Regions from separate parts of the Homo sapiens genome. Here all the other regions are linked to region 2. The links are contacts of gene promoters, found by promoter capture Hi-C in blood cells and fetal thymus (Javierre and others, 2016). All regions are on one chromosome and are shown on one strand. The core of a region is centred on a gene start or on the middle of the fragment in contact, and the rest is flanking DNA. Distances in the headings are between cores, read along the strand shown.

Region 1 (3,094 bases), core at 189-2,688, 1.4 Mb before region 2:
TCTCGGGTGTAGGCTCAGAAAGGAACCCCAAGAGAGAACATCTCGAGTAAACCCTCTTAACTTACCCATGATGAACAGACTCAAAGGCTCAGGAAAAGACATAGTCAGAAATCCCCCCAAAAGATACTCCAATTAGACAGTCAACTCCCAACCCCATCACAGACAGTCCCCTCCCTTGCTTCCTCCTCCTCACCGAGGACTGTTCCCTCTTTAGCAGTCCTGGAAGTTTGGTTCCACAGTCTGTAAGCGATAAGAAAAGCAGTCACCTTCTCCCTGAGGGAAGGGAAACTAACATTTTGAGTGACTAATAGGAACCAGGCACAGACACAGATGTTTTCTACAAAACCTTATAATACTGCAGATAGATGGCTATTATCTTCCCTGCACTAAAAACAAAACAAAACAAAACAAAACAAAACTCACGTAGAAGGATACAGAGGCATAGACAAGGCTGGGGACAGATAACCAACTCTTACAAGATCATGCAGCTGGTTAGCAAGTTGCAAAACTGGGGGTGAAAGCAAGTCTGTCCAGCTCCAGGCTCTTATGCTTCCTATCCTACCCAAGAGCTTGGAGGGAGAACCCTCCAACCTCCTCCCCACCCCCATCATGGGCTCTTCTGCCCTCGGTAAAGACATCAACTAGCTCCTACAACCTTGTCCTGTGGAAAAGACGTAGGAGCCCTAAGCTGCAGGCAGCAGATGGTTGGGGGCGGAGAAAAGCACAGGGGGGCAGTTAGTTCAACCTCCCCTCACTCTCACCGTAGTTCTCCGTTATCTTTGACAACTGGATAGGGGCGTCCAGTAGCACCTGGCTATTTCCCTGGCTTTGTGGCTCAGCCCTATGTGGGTAGGGATAGAAAGCGCAGAGTTAGGAGTTGAGGGAAAAGCTCTATGGCCATCAGATCTTCCTCCCCCACCTCTTGTCTCCGGACCGTTCGCCGTCCCTTCGCCCCCATCAACCCCTACTCCCTGGCACATACAGACGCAGAGTGTTGTACATGCGCTGGCACACGGCCCTGATGCCCGCGTCATCCTTGCTGTCCCCGGACACCTCTTGCAATAGTTCCCCTACAGCTTCCACCAGGTCATCCACAGACTCGAAGTCCGCGCTGCCGCTGTGCAAGACGCCTGGGCAGGGCGTGGTAGAACGAGGAAGGTATCGGGTAGGGTGGACACACAAGCAGTTTCAGACCCCAGACAGAGGCCCCAGTCCAGGCTCCAGACCCAACCAGCCCCCGGGACAAGAGGTCATGCAGAGGAGAGGCCTGGCAACAGTCCCGGGCACGACGCTCGCTTAGACTTTCCCCCGGCCTCCACTTCGGTCTCCCCAGCCGGCCGATTCAGTTCTGCTTACCGGTCACGTAGTCGAAGACTTGTCCGTCAATTTCGGGGAACTCGCTCCGCAGGATTTCGGCGCAAGTCGCCATGTTCCACTCAGGAACCCGTCCGCGCAGTCGCTGTGAGACCCCGGCCTAGGCCCGCCCCCCGCCCTGCCCCCGAAATCTCGCCCTTCCTTGCAAGGCGCATGTGTAGCGGTGACGCAGGAAAGGAGCGGAGTGCGCAGAGCCCGGTGGGCGGGGCGAGCGGGGCCTTGAGGAGAGGCGCCGAGTCTGCGCCGGAGCCGCGCTCTCTGCGCGTGCGCGACACCTTTTCCGCTGAAAGATTAGCCACATGTGCGGTTCTCGCTGCCTTCTGGGAGGTGGAGTTCCGGGAGCGAGGGGTGGGGCAAAGGCTGGGAGCTCAAGGTTTATCGGGGCCGCGAGGCACCCGTGGTCTGGCGGGTGGGAGCCTCCCAAGAGGCAGGCGGCTGATAAAGCACTTTGGCTTTGCCAGGTTTTATGCGCTCCCTCGAGGCGCGTCTGCTGCTGGTGCGTACCCAGTCAGGCCCATTTTGGAGCCTGCCCAGAGCTTTGCTGACTCACCCCGGTCCCTGACTCTCAGAAGCCCCCTGCTCAGTGCTTTGCTTTCGCGGGTCCCCAGACCCTACGGGCTTCTCAGCCTGGTGGCCAGCGCCACCCGCCTCCCCGCCGCGACCGCCTTTTCACTGTGTAATTCAGCCGACCTTTGTGAATTAAGCCCATTCAGTTCTTCCACCACCCCAGGGCACGACCAAATCCACCGCCAAAGGGCAAGAAAACCAGGACAACGTGGCCTGTATAAATTATTCCCTACCTACACCCTGAGCAGACTTCTCTGCACTCAATAAATGCCAATAAAAGGCTATTTCCTTTCACCGATTCCCTCGGGAAGTTAGGAATTTCCTCCAAAATGATGCTACTGCTTTATATTTAACGTGAATATTCCTCCAATTGGTCTCTAAAAGTGGCACCGAAAATTACATTATTACCCATTCATCCCTTTGGATTAAACATTGCCATCATGAGGCATCAATCCCGATATTGAACCATTTTACAGGAAATACAGGTAAAGAGGAATATGTTAAGTGACTTCATGGGGACAACAGGCAAATTCTGATGTGGTAAACTACAGAACTCTGGTTTCTTCCACAAAATTGCAAGACCTGAAGGGAAACATCAATTTTTAAAATTTGAGGAGCATTAACCAACCACAATGGACCTTATCTGGAAAAATTTGATAAGACACCTGGTTAAGTGAACACAAACTGGATGTGATATTAAGGAACTGGCCACGCATTGATCATAGTTGAAGCTGGGTGATGAGACATGGAGATTCATTATATTCTTTTTTTTTTTTTTTTTAATTTGAGAAGGAGTTTCGCTCTTGTTGCCCAGGCTGGAGTACAGTGGCGTGATCTTGGCTCACCGCAGCCTCCACCTCCTGGGTTCGAGCGATTCTCCTGCCTCAGCCCCCGAATAGCTGGGATTACCGGCATGCACCACCACGCCCGGCTAATTTTGTAATTTTAGTAGAGACGAGGTTTCCCCATGTTGGTCAGGCTGGTCTCGAATTCCGGACCTCGGGTGATCCACCCGTCTCGGCCTCCCAGAGTGCTGGGATTACAGTGTGAGCCACCGCGCCCAGTCCATTATGTTATTCTCCTTGCAAATCTTTCCTCCTACCACCCAGTCAGCAAGATTTGGGAAGCTTGGGTAAATGATGGAATTAAAAGG
Region 2 (3,223 bases), core at 75-2,574:
AGTTAATGCGATTTAGAAATTAAATAGTAACCGGCCTCATCACACAGATAAGGTTAGGCTTCTTCAGCCAGGGGCAATTTCTGTCCTAATTGTCACAGCTGCCTTAATGCTGTACTTTCTGCGCTGTAGCTGCCAGGAGGCAGATAAGATTTTTCTCTCTGAATTAATTCTGGGAAAGGTGGCACTTTTTATAGGCCTTAAATGACCCTTTTCTAAGATTTTTTGTTGGTGGTGTCCAGATGTTCCAATAATACTGGAGAGTTAACTATTCCTTCCAAACCTGTGTCGTTCAAACTGCCTTGAGGAGAACGGGAAAAAAGTAAGGTTCACACTCGAAAAGTTTCACTCGGGGTGGGGTGAGGACGAGGTAGGAAGGAAACGACAGTACGTATCGTTCGTAACTATCGTACAATACGTATCGTTTCCGAAGCTAGACCGGCAGCTGGCACAGTCTTTCCCCTTTCCAGGTCCTGGGGAGAAACGTCTCTCGCTGAGGGGGCTAGACACCTACGACAGCCTCCTCCTCGGGAATCAACACAGCTCTGGATCGTGACACGCTTCCAGAAGTCCGTGACGAGTGGGGGCAGAAGACAGGTTCTTCGCTTCCCCTTCACCCAAACACGTCCCAAATTGTTCGAGGCAGGAAGAGCACGCCTCTCTCATCTCCCCAAGACCTACTCTCGCTCAGCTCCCTCGCCCTGTTTCCTCTGGGGGCACCGCCACCCCGCTCGGGACTCCCGCCTCTGGCCACAGCAGCCCCGGAGCGGCAAGGGGGAAGAAGTAACGGAGAAGCGCCGGCTAGAAGCGGCCGCCTCCGGCCGCTCGGCGCCAGCCTCGGCGGCCCGGGCTTGGAGGCGAGACGAGCCCGGGAGCCGCACGGGGCTTCTCCGGCTCTGGGCCCCGCGCCCGTCTCCGCTGCGGCCTAGCCGGGCGCCCACGCCCTGGCCTCCCGGCTCCGCGCCGCCGGCCTTTCCCCGCCACCCCGGGCCGAGAGGCCCCGCGGGGGCGGACGAATGGAGGTGGAGGGGCGGGGGCACCTACCAGCTGCTGCCGGATCCAGCGCCACATTCCCCCGTCGTCGCCGTCCGGGTCCCGCGGGGCGCGGGGGCCGCGGGGCTGCAGGTGGAGGCCGACAAGACAGAGGCGGGAGCGGGCGAGCCCCTCGGGCCGAAGTTCCGCTTACCGCCGCCGCCGCCACTGCCTCACTCCCCGCGCCGCGTCCCCATCCCGCGGCGTCGGCCCCGAGTCCTACAGGCGCGGCCCCGGCGCCGCCCCCGCCCGGCGCAGCTGAGCCTGCCGCCGCGCCGCAGCCACCTTCATTATTGACCGTTGTCACCCAAAGCACCCCCGCAACCCCACCCCCGCCCCGCCCCGCCCGGCCCCCCGGCTCCACCCGGGACCGCCCCCGGCGCCCCGGCCCGCCCCCGGACGTGACGAAAGGGGGTGCGCGGACCGAGGGGGGCCTGGCGCGCCCCGCCGCCGTTCCGAGTTGGGGGGTTTCTGTGTTGTGGGTCCGGGAAGAAGCGAGCGTGGAAAGGTGCCGGGTTCTCGAACGCTGTTTCTGTCCACTGCCACCCTCCTCCCCGTTCTGGGAGTGGGATTAAGTCGTGTCTGTGGGTCTGGCCATCTCCGGAGTCTGCAGCTTGGGGCCGATTCCTCGGTCTCTACCTCCTGTTGCAGGTCTTTTTCGGGCTCTGTGGCTTCTTTGGTTCACGCGTCTCCCGACACGCATACGCACAGTCCTGAACGTATGTGACTGAAAGTTAATCCCCCCAGAAGTCCCAGTTTGGGTTCCATCAAGCTGTAAGAGCTTTCGTCTCAACACAAGTCAGGCCTCTTCTTTAGCAAATGGCTGAGACGGGGCTAGGGAAATCTTGATCACACCCATTAAGTGATTCGAAAGCGTTGCAAGTCCCCTGAGCCTGGTACAGCCTGGACCCGTGTTTCTAGGCGAATGGATGAGATATTCTGTCTTGCCGTGTGCTAAATTGGACAGGTTCAGGGGAAGATAATTTGTATAAAAAGGTAGTTCTTTACTGCTAACTGCCAAACTTCTGCAATCAAAAACACCCGTAGCAGTAACTTGACCTAGGTTAAAAAAGTGTGTGGATGACAAGCTCAGAAGGAATATACAAGCAACTGGAACAAGGCTTTGACTTAAAGGTTTGGCGTTGTTTAAAAGCAGCCCCGTATACATATTGTGTTATGTATATGTATTGAATGCTGTATTTTTGCTGAATTAAAGCACACTTCACCGACAGACGTTTGTGGTTAAAAAAAAAAAAATTAAGCGGCCGGGCGCGGTGGCTCACGCCTGTAATCCCATGTAATCCCAGCACTTTGGGAGGCCGAGGCGGGTGGATCACGAGGTCAGGAGATCGAGACCTTCCTGGCTAACATGGCGAAACCCCATCTCTACTAAAAAATACAAAACATTAGCCGAGCGTGGTGGCGGTCGCCTGTAGTCCCAGCTACTCGGGAGGCTGAGGCAGGAGAATGACGTGAACCCGGGAGGCAGAGCTTGCAGTGAGCCGAGATGGCGCCACTGCACTCCAGCCTGGGCGGCAGAAGGAGACTCCGTCTCAAAAAAAAAAAAAAAAAAAAAAAATTAAGCAAGAACAAATCTAAATGAGATTAGCATGACTAGGCAGGTCGTTGAATATGCATCCTCAATCTTCTAGTTTCAGTAGACATTTCTTACTATATAATGCTTATCCAGCACCACAAATAGAATCTTTCTTTGGGGATATTTATGATCTGTAAAACCAACATGGAATTTTATATTATAAATCATCCAACTTCAAAAAATAGCTAGATATTTGAAAAGTCATCTTACTTTTATTCTTGTGGCTAAACCTTACTTTATGACCCTAAAAGGAAGTTTTGAGATATATTTAGTGACAAAACCTTACTGCCATTCATGGAGCACTGTGTCCATTCATGGAGCACCCAGGTCCTGTATCAAGTTCTTTACTTGTATGCTGTAATTTAACTCCAATCAATCCCTTGAAGTAGGTATTATTCCCGTTTTGTATAGATGCAGAAATGGAGGCTCACACTAATTTGGCAAAGCTAGGATTCAGATTCTGGATTGTCAGGCAATAGTGCTCATGTTCTTAAGCTACGTCCAAAAATAAAAATATGGCCATGCCTACTTTTATTCATCTGCAAATGGTTTGATTACAAATTAGGCCTGGAAATTTTTATTTATATGCCGCTAAAA
Region 3 (3,151 bases), core at 128-2,627, 1.9 Mb after region 2:
AGATGACACCATTTTTAAAAGGCAAATAAAAAACCACTAATTAGGTATAAAAATAAATATTTCCATTTTAGACCTTTTCAAAATTAACTTTCTACTATAAATCATATGTTGTCTTCTTGGGTCCACTGCTGGGCCATGACATTACTTTATGTGCTGTAACTTCATGTAAATTTCCTAAGGGGCTAGAAAGGCAAACCCTGTATTTAAGCAACCAATATATTTTTAATGTAACAAAATGTTAGTGTAAACCATATGAAACTGTCAATACTTAACCATTTCTGACCTACAAGAATGGAAATTTCTTATGGCTCAAGTCTTTAAAAATCACCTTACAAGCTTAATAAAGCTCTCTCTTGGATCATTTTTGTTCTAAATTTATTACTAAGGGCAAAGTCACCTTTTCTTTCCTTCAAAGGATTCCTAGAGCTGCAGAAGAATGTTGTGAGTCTGGCACAAAACTGACCAAACCCTCTGAATACATTTGGAAAAACAAAAAATGAAACTGGTTATCAGCTTCCCAACCTCCAGACTAACCTTGGACAAGCTAATAAAGTATTCACACAGTTAAGAAGAGGACACAAACCGTTTTGTGACTCTGAAATAATCTGTTTAAAAAGTATGATGGTAGAGCTCCCGGGCTGGTGAATCTATTGATGGGCTGGAAATGTGGCATGCTCAAAGAAGTCATGGAAGCTCTACTTTCCAAGCCCCTTCCCTCACCCCGACCTTGCCTCATGCATCTCTTTCATTTGGCAGTTCCTGACTTGTATCCTTTATAATAAACCAGTAAACAATCGAGCCTGACCATCTCTAAGTATGATTGAAGAATGACAGTTTACCTCTGCTATTTTGCACAATCCCAGAAAAATTTTAAGAAAAAGTGTTTATTGACCAAAAAATTACATTTCATAACTAAGGCGATCAGATATGAAGCAACCTAAAAGGATTACCACCCACACCCCCCCACCGGTATAAGGGAAAAATAGTGCAGGGAAGCAGATGTAGAAAACATAATTTAAAAATGTAAAAGTAAGCCTGCGCAGTGTCTCACGCCTATAATCTCAGCACTTTGGGAGGCCGAGGCGGGTGTTCACTTGAAGCCAGAAGTTCGAGACCAGCCTGGCCAACATCACAAAACACCATCTCTACTAAAAATAAAAAAATTAGCTGGGCATTGTGGCTCACACCTGTAATTCCAGCTACTCAGAGGCCAAGGCACGACAATCACTTAAAATCGGGAGGTGGAGGTTGCAGTGAACTGAGATTGTGCCACTGTACTCCAACCTGAGCAACTTAGTGAGACTCCATCTCAAAAAATAAAAAATAAAAAATAAAAAAATTGCCTAAGAAAAAAACACAAAAAAGATAAAAACTCAGGGCTGGGCACAGTGGCTCACACCTGTAATCCCAGAACTTTGGGAGGCCAAGGCAGGCTGATCACCTGAGGTCGGGAGTTTGAGACCAGCCTGACCAACATGGAGAAACCCCGTCGCTACTGAAAATACAAAATCAGCCGGGTATGATGGCGCATGCCTGTAATCCCAGCTACTAGGGAGGCTGAGGCAGGAGAATCGCTTGAACCCGGGAGGTGGAGGTTGTAGTGAGCCGAGATCGCACCATTGCACTCCAGCCTGAGCAACAGGAGCAAAACTCCATCTCAAAAATAAAATAAAATAAAAAAATAAAACTCAGCCATAAAATGCAAGGACTTCCTACACCAAAAACTGCACAAACAAAAAATAGACAATTCACAGAACAAGGGGTTAAGAGCCAACCAACTAATTTAAGTGATGTTCCCATACTACTATTCATTAAGGAAATGAGAATTCATGAGACATCAGTTTCCATCCACCAAGTTTACAAAACTGTACATATGAACAATATAATACAGTCACTTAATGTATGAAAAAGATACCTCCAGTGTTAATAAAAGTATAAAGTAATTCTGAAGACATTTTTGGAGGATGAAATGGTACATTTTAATACTTTTAAAAACATTAACCTCTTAGGAATTATACTACCAGACTTGCATAAGAATATTAACTTTAACTCTGGCATTGTTTTCTTTTGCTAACAGCAAAAAATCTGGTAATTTCAATGTCTTTTAATTTGATATATCCACACCAAATAATTTTGAGGTGGTTACAAAAAATGAGGTAAATTTAAATGAGAAGACACGAAAATGTTTGCTGTCCTAATTAAGTGAATACAAAAGTCACAAATATATAACTTAATCCCAATTTTTTTTCAACTTAAATATGTCCTTTATACATGCAAATAAAAAACTTACAAGAGAATCAACTCTGGTAAATGAGATTTAAGATAGGGTGGGTGGACAAGTACACCTACATTAAGATGGAAGGTTTACTTTGTACTTTATATAATTTTTTACCATTTCATTTTTTACATTAAGCTTTATTACTTTAAATTTAAAGAAGGGGAAGAGGCTTTCGAAACGTTACCTGGGAAAGCACTAACTCCGAATTTCTAAACACTCTACGTAATATGGATAAATCCTTAATAAACGGTGACAAAAAAACAAAATCCTATGGGTGGCAAGATTATGCTTAAACTTTTTCCTTATATTAATTTTTAAATTTTTCAAAAGTGAAAAAAAATCACATTTTAATTTCAGATAATGACTTACAAAATTCTAGAGAGCAAATTTGACCAGAGCTGAATCATAAAACATAACGTGAAATTTAAAAAAAACTCTAGATTCAATTTCTAAATCATTCAATCTCTAACACCAATGTCTTCTTCACAAAAGCGGAGGCAGACCACAGGGGTGAGCCAGACTGTTCAGGAACAGGGAAGGACCCTCCTGGACAGGAATGGAAAAAGTACACTGTAACAACACCCTCACCACCCCACCAAGAGTAGTTTTCCCTTTAATCTGAGACTTGACGCTACCAATTTTAAGTGTCTAAACAACAAAAAAGTGTAAGAAGCATTACTCTCAAAACTGAGTGCCACACATTTCTAATTCTAGAACATGTCCAAACCTACATCATTCCTTGCTTGACCTAACTTTTGCTTACTCAAAATCCAAAAAACACTGTATCAGAAATAAATTTTGAAAAATGAAAATGAATCAAGCCCTTTATTCTCACAGAAAACTATTAGAGATACAATATTGAGAAAAACATTT
Region 4 (3,225 bases), core at 219-2,718, 1.1 Mb after region 2:
AGACCATAATCCTGCTAGCAAATCCTATATCTTCCAGAACTGGCTCTTTTGTTTGGGATTACTGAGAGCTTAGCCTATAACAAAGAGGAATAAGGCATCCCTCTCATCCTCATAATTAAGTGTGGGGACTAATTTAGAAACAAACCCAGAAAGATGTACTATTTGGAGTTATATTTCTTTACAGAATAGAGGAGAAACAGGATAGGCCAAACACCTGATTGTTAACAGAATGTTTAAACTATTAAGCAAGTGTACTACAGGAATCCAGCTTGTTAAAATTAAGAGCAACAGCAAATAAGGCATTGATGGCCTTTGCACGGGGCAGTAATTCTGTATGAGGGATCTGAAGGTATGTTTGGGAAGAGGAAGTATTAGGGTGTCAAGCTGGAGAAGATGTGCTGTGTCCTTTCTCAATGCCATTTATTGTCTTCTTTCATTTTTCTAACAGGCTGCACAATTAAGAGTTATTGTTATGAGCAGAACTGTTAACATGCTGAATAAAAATAAAAACTTTTTTTATTCACTAGAACAAATATAACTTTGGAAAATTGTCATTGGAAATGGTTAACATTTTACTTCCAAGGTGCATAAAATTTAGCAGAAAGAAAATAATAGGTGATTTCCTGGCCCTTTCCATGGCTCAAAACAAACCTCCATGTATTCTTATAGCCCAATTCTATCTGTGTTTAAGGAGATAATTTTACAAACAGGATGTATATAAAAACAGCCTTCACAATCTACCATCCATGTATAAACTGATGTCTGTTAAAGAAGAGAGAAAACACAAGGGTTGATTTATCAATGTCTTCAGCATTAATTGTCACAGATGGGAATTCTGAGAACCTCTGTGAAACCAAACCAGACTCCGGCGAATTATAAAGCAGGTCCTTAGACTTTAAAAACATTTAGGCAAAGTGACAGTTCAGAACATCTGTTAGCCTTCTGTCTGAGTATAAACTAGATGTCATGGAGTGCACAGCTGTAGGCATTTTAGGCTTTTTTGCCAACATCTGTCACAGCAGTACAATAATATAGGTAATTATCAACACCTTATATAAACTGTTTGCTATTTTAATTTTTAGAAAGAGTAAAATTAGTGTTACAGTCCTTGGCAAAAATAATTGAGATGAATATAATCATCTTTATCTAAAGATGAATAAATGATCTGATCATTCTTTGAAAAGCACACATTTTAAATATTTTCTGCAGCCAATATGGGTATTATATCATTTTTAAAAGCAAAAATTGTAAGCGATCTTGTTTTTGAAAAATAAAAAAAAAGACAAACCACAAGCCAAAGTAATTTAAGGGAAAAAGAAGAAAGAGGCCAATAATTTGCTATCCAGAGTAACCAAAGGTGATATGATTTGTGGTAAAAAGATAGCATTTGTTAATACCACACATTGTGGCATTGATTTCATCTTCATAAAAATTAAAAATTCCTTTTATAATATCATTATAGCACAATCTATAGTGGTGAATTATTTTAAAAATTGCCTTCCTCCTCTATCTCCTCCTGGTCATAGAATTTTTGCAGAAAAATGGCAAATAAACCTGTAACTCATATCCTGCCACCTTAGTTAATTTGAAAAGCTCTAGCTCCCCATATAAGTCTAAGGACCCTTTATTCCATTAATACCACCTGGATATGAATCATCTACAGTGGATGTCCTAAGATACTGGGCATTATTGTCTCATACCTGATTCTCTTGACCTATTCCATAGTTGTTTTCCAGTCTAAAGGACTCAAAGCAGCAAGACTATATTCCTAAGCACCTGTTCTGGGGAAGATGCCAGTCAATAATGTCTTATTGAAAGACCAGGTCCAGCGAGAGGAAATAAAGGAATTGAGCTGCAGTTGGATTTCATCATCTAAACATGCAATGTAATCTTAACCAATTCATTACACACCCCTTTTGTTTCCACTACAAAAGGGATGTTACCTTTGTCAGAGGTTGTAATTCCAGTATGTTCAAGCAAAGACAAGGGAGAAATTGAAAAAGTGCTATCAATTCTATCCACAGTCAGGAAGAGCCATAGGGTCAGAAGGCCATTGTCACTACCCCAGGTACAGTTCAGACTAGACCACAGATAGCTGAAGTTTCCATTGCACTAGAAAGGTATAATAAAGGAGAATCACAGAAAATACTGAATAAGAATCGGAGTAGGAAATCATTTTTGAATACATTTGGCTTAACACATATGAAGTTGAACCAAATGGTTGTCTCTCTTTGGGCAATAGTTGTGGATGCTTAAAAGTATGCTTTCTTAGAATAATCTTGTGGAGGAGGCAAATTTTATTAATAGGAGGTCAATAAGGCAAAAACAATGAATCACAAATTTCAGCATTCATAATCTAAAGGTCTACAAAGAGTTAAAGGGGAAAGAGAAGGAGGAAGTAAATATAGCTATAAAGGGCAGACAGCTTGGCCCAAAAGGAAGGATTAAGAATGAAGAAGGTGATAAAAGAAAAAAGAAAATGTGATAGATACTGACAGAGAATAAGGCCATCTGAGAGGGTGGGGGAGGAGCAAAGGAGGATATTGATTACCAAATGGAATATTAGGGACCAATTTAAAATTTAGGGACTGTGAGTGTTAATGCTTCCTAAAGAGTGTTCCCTTGTAATAAATGCGTCTTAGAGAAACATTTTAAAATAATACGTTAGTGGTATGGTTTTGAAGCCTGTTCAAGTGGATTCACTTGATACTTCTCAATGTTTTATTTCTTTACCAGTGAGGAAAACTCAGTGTATTTTGAGGTCTAGTAAAGGGGGAAAAAAAGAAAGTAAACCATTTTCCAAACAACTTGGAAAATATCTTATTTTAATAATGAATTTGACTCCTTAAGGACATTACTTTTTTTCATCTGGTTTTAAATATTTGGAGCAAAGTAATGAAATAAGGATATCTGCAAATATTAGATATTTGAGTGAACTTCAAAAATCATTCTTTACTAAAGTTAAGCTTATAAGAAAATACATATTACTTTAGAGTTTGCATTGTGAATTTGAAAGTACATTGTCTGTAAATCTCTCTCCTTGATTGCTTGGCACTCTTGGATTGATAAGAATAGTACTTTGTTAGGGTCCACTTTACATTTTGAAAATTATTTGCTAGAAGTCAGAGCTAGGAAATCCACCCTCTGAAACACACACAGTTTGCAGTCAGCGTGCTCTCATCTTCTACCCTCTTTTGTGCTATCGCCTCCCCCGGCTTGTGCCTA

What was found. Contacts are between HindIII fragments. The CHiCAGO score rates a contact against its expected background, and 5 or more counts as called.
Region 1: the fragment with the promoter of ABCF3 here is called in contact with the fragment with the promoter of ATP11B in region 2 in 4 of 17 cell types (neutrophils, fetal thymus, naive B cells and 1 more); the score reaches 12.0 in neutrophils.
Region 3: a contact is called between a fragment that was not itself captured here and the fragment with the promoter of ATP11B in region 2, in 5 of 17 cell types (naive CD4 T cells, naive B cells, M0 macrophages and 2 more). The highest score is 7.6, in naive CD4 T cells.
Region 4: a fragment that was not itself captured here is called in contact with the fragment with the promoter of ATP11B in region 2 in 1 of 17 cell types (M1 macrophages); the score reaches 6.2 in M1 macrophages.

What each region holds. Positions count from the first base shown.
Region 1 is chr3:184,184,543-184,187,636 of GRCh38, reverse strand. ABCF3 (ATP binding cassette subfamily F member 3) reads right to left here and starts at 1,438. Exons shown (of 21, transcript NM_018358.3): 1 at 1,357-1,438; 2 at 983-1,130; 3 at 762-841; 4 at 194-240. The coding sequence starts at 1,429. RefSeq lists enhancers at 1,134-1,453, 1,931-2,645. The HindIII fragment of the contact is 6,180 bases long and covers 1-3,070 here.
Region 2 is chr3:182,791,605-182,794,827 of GRCh38, reverse strand. It overlaps ATP11B (ATPase phospholipid transporting 11B (putative)), which reads right to left and starts at 1,324. Exons shown (of 30, transcript NM_014616.3): 1 at 1,042-1,324. The coding sequence starts at 1,068. ATP11B-DT (ATP11B divergent transcript) reads left to right here and starts at 1,464. Exons shown (of 3, transcript NR_187316.1): 1 at 1,464-1,748. RefSeq lists a silencer at 740-1,489. The HindIII fragment of the contact is 13,212 bases long and covers 1-3,223 here.
Region 3 is chr3:180,937,074-180,940,224 of GRCh38, reverse strand. All of the region lies in intron 3 of FXR1 (FMR1 autosomal homolog 1), which reads right to left. Among named protein-coding and RNA genes, the nearest start is that of FXR1, 26 kb to the right of the region's middle. The HindIII fragment of the contact is 2,077 bases long and covers 339-2,415 here.
Region 4 is chr3:181,689,721-181,692,945 of GRCh38, reverse strand. The region is part of intron 5 of SOX2-OT (SOX2 overlapping transcript); the gene reads right to left. Among named protein-coding and RNA genes, the nearest start is that of SOX2, 21 kb to the left of the region's middle. The HindIII fragment of the contact is 3,000 bases long and covers 1-2,968 here.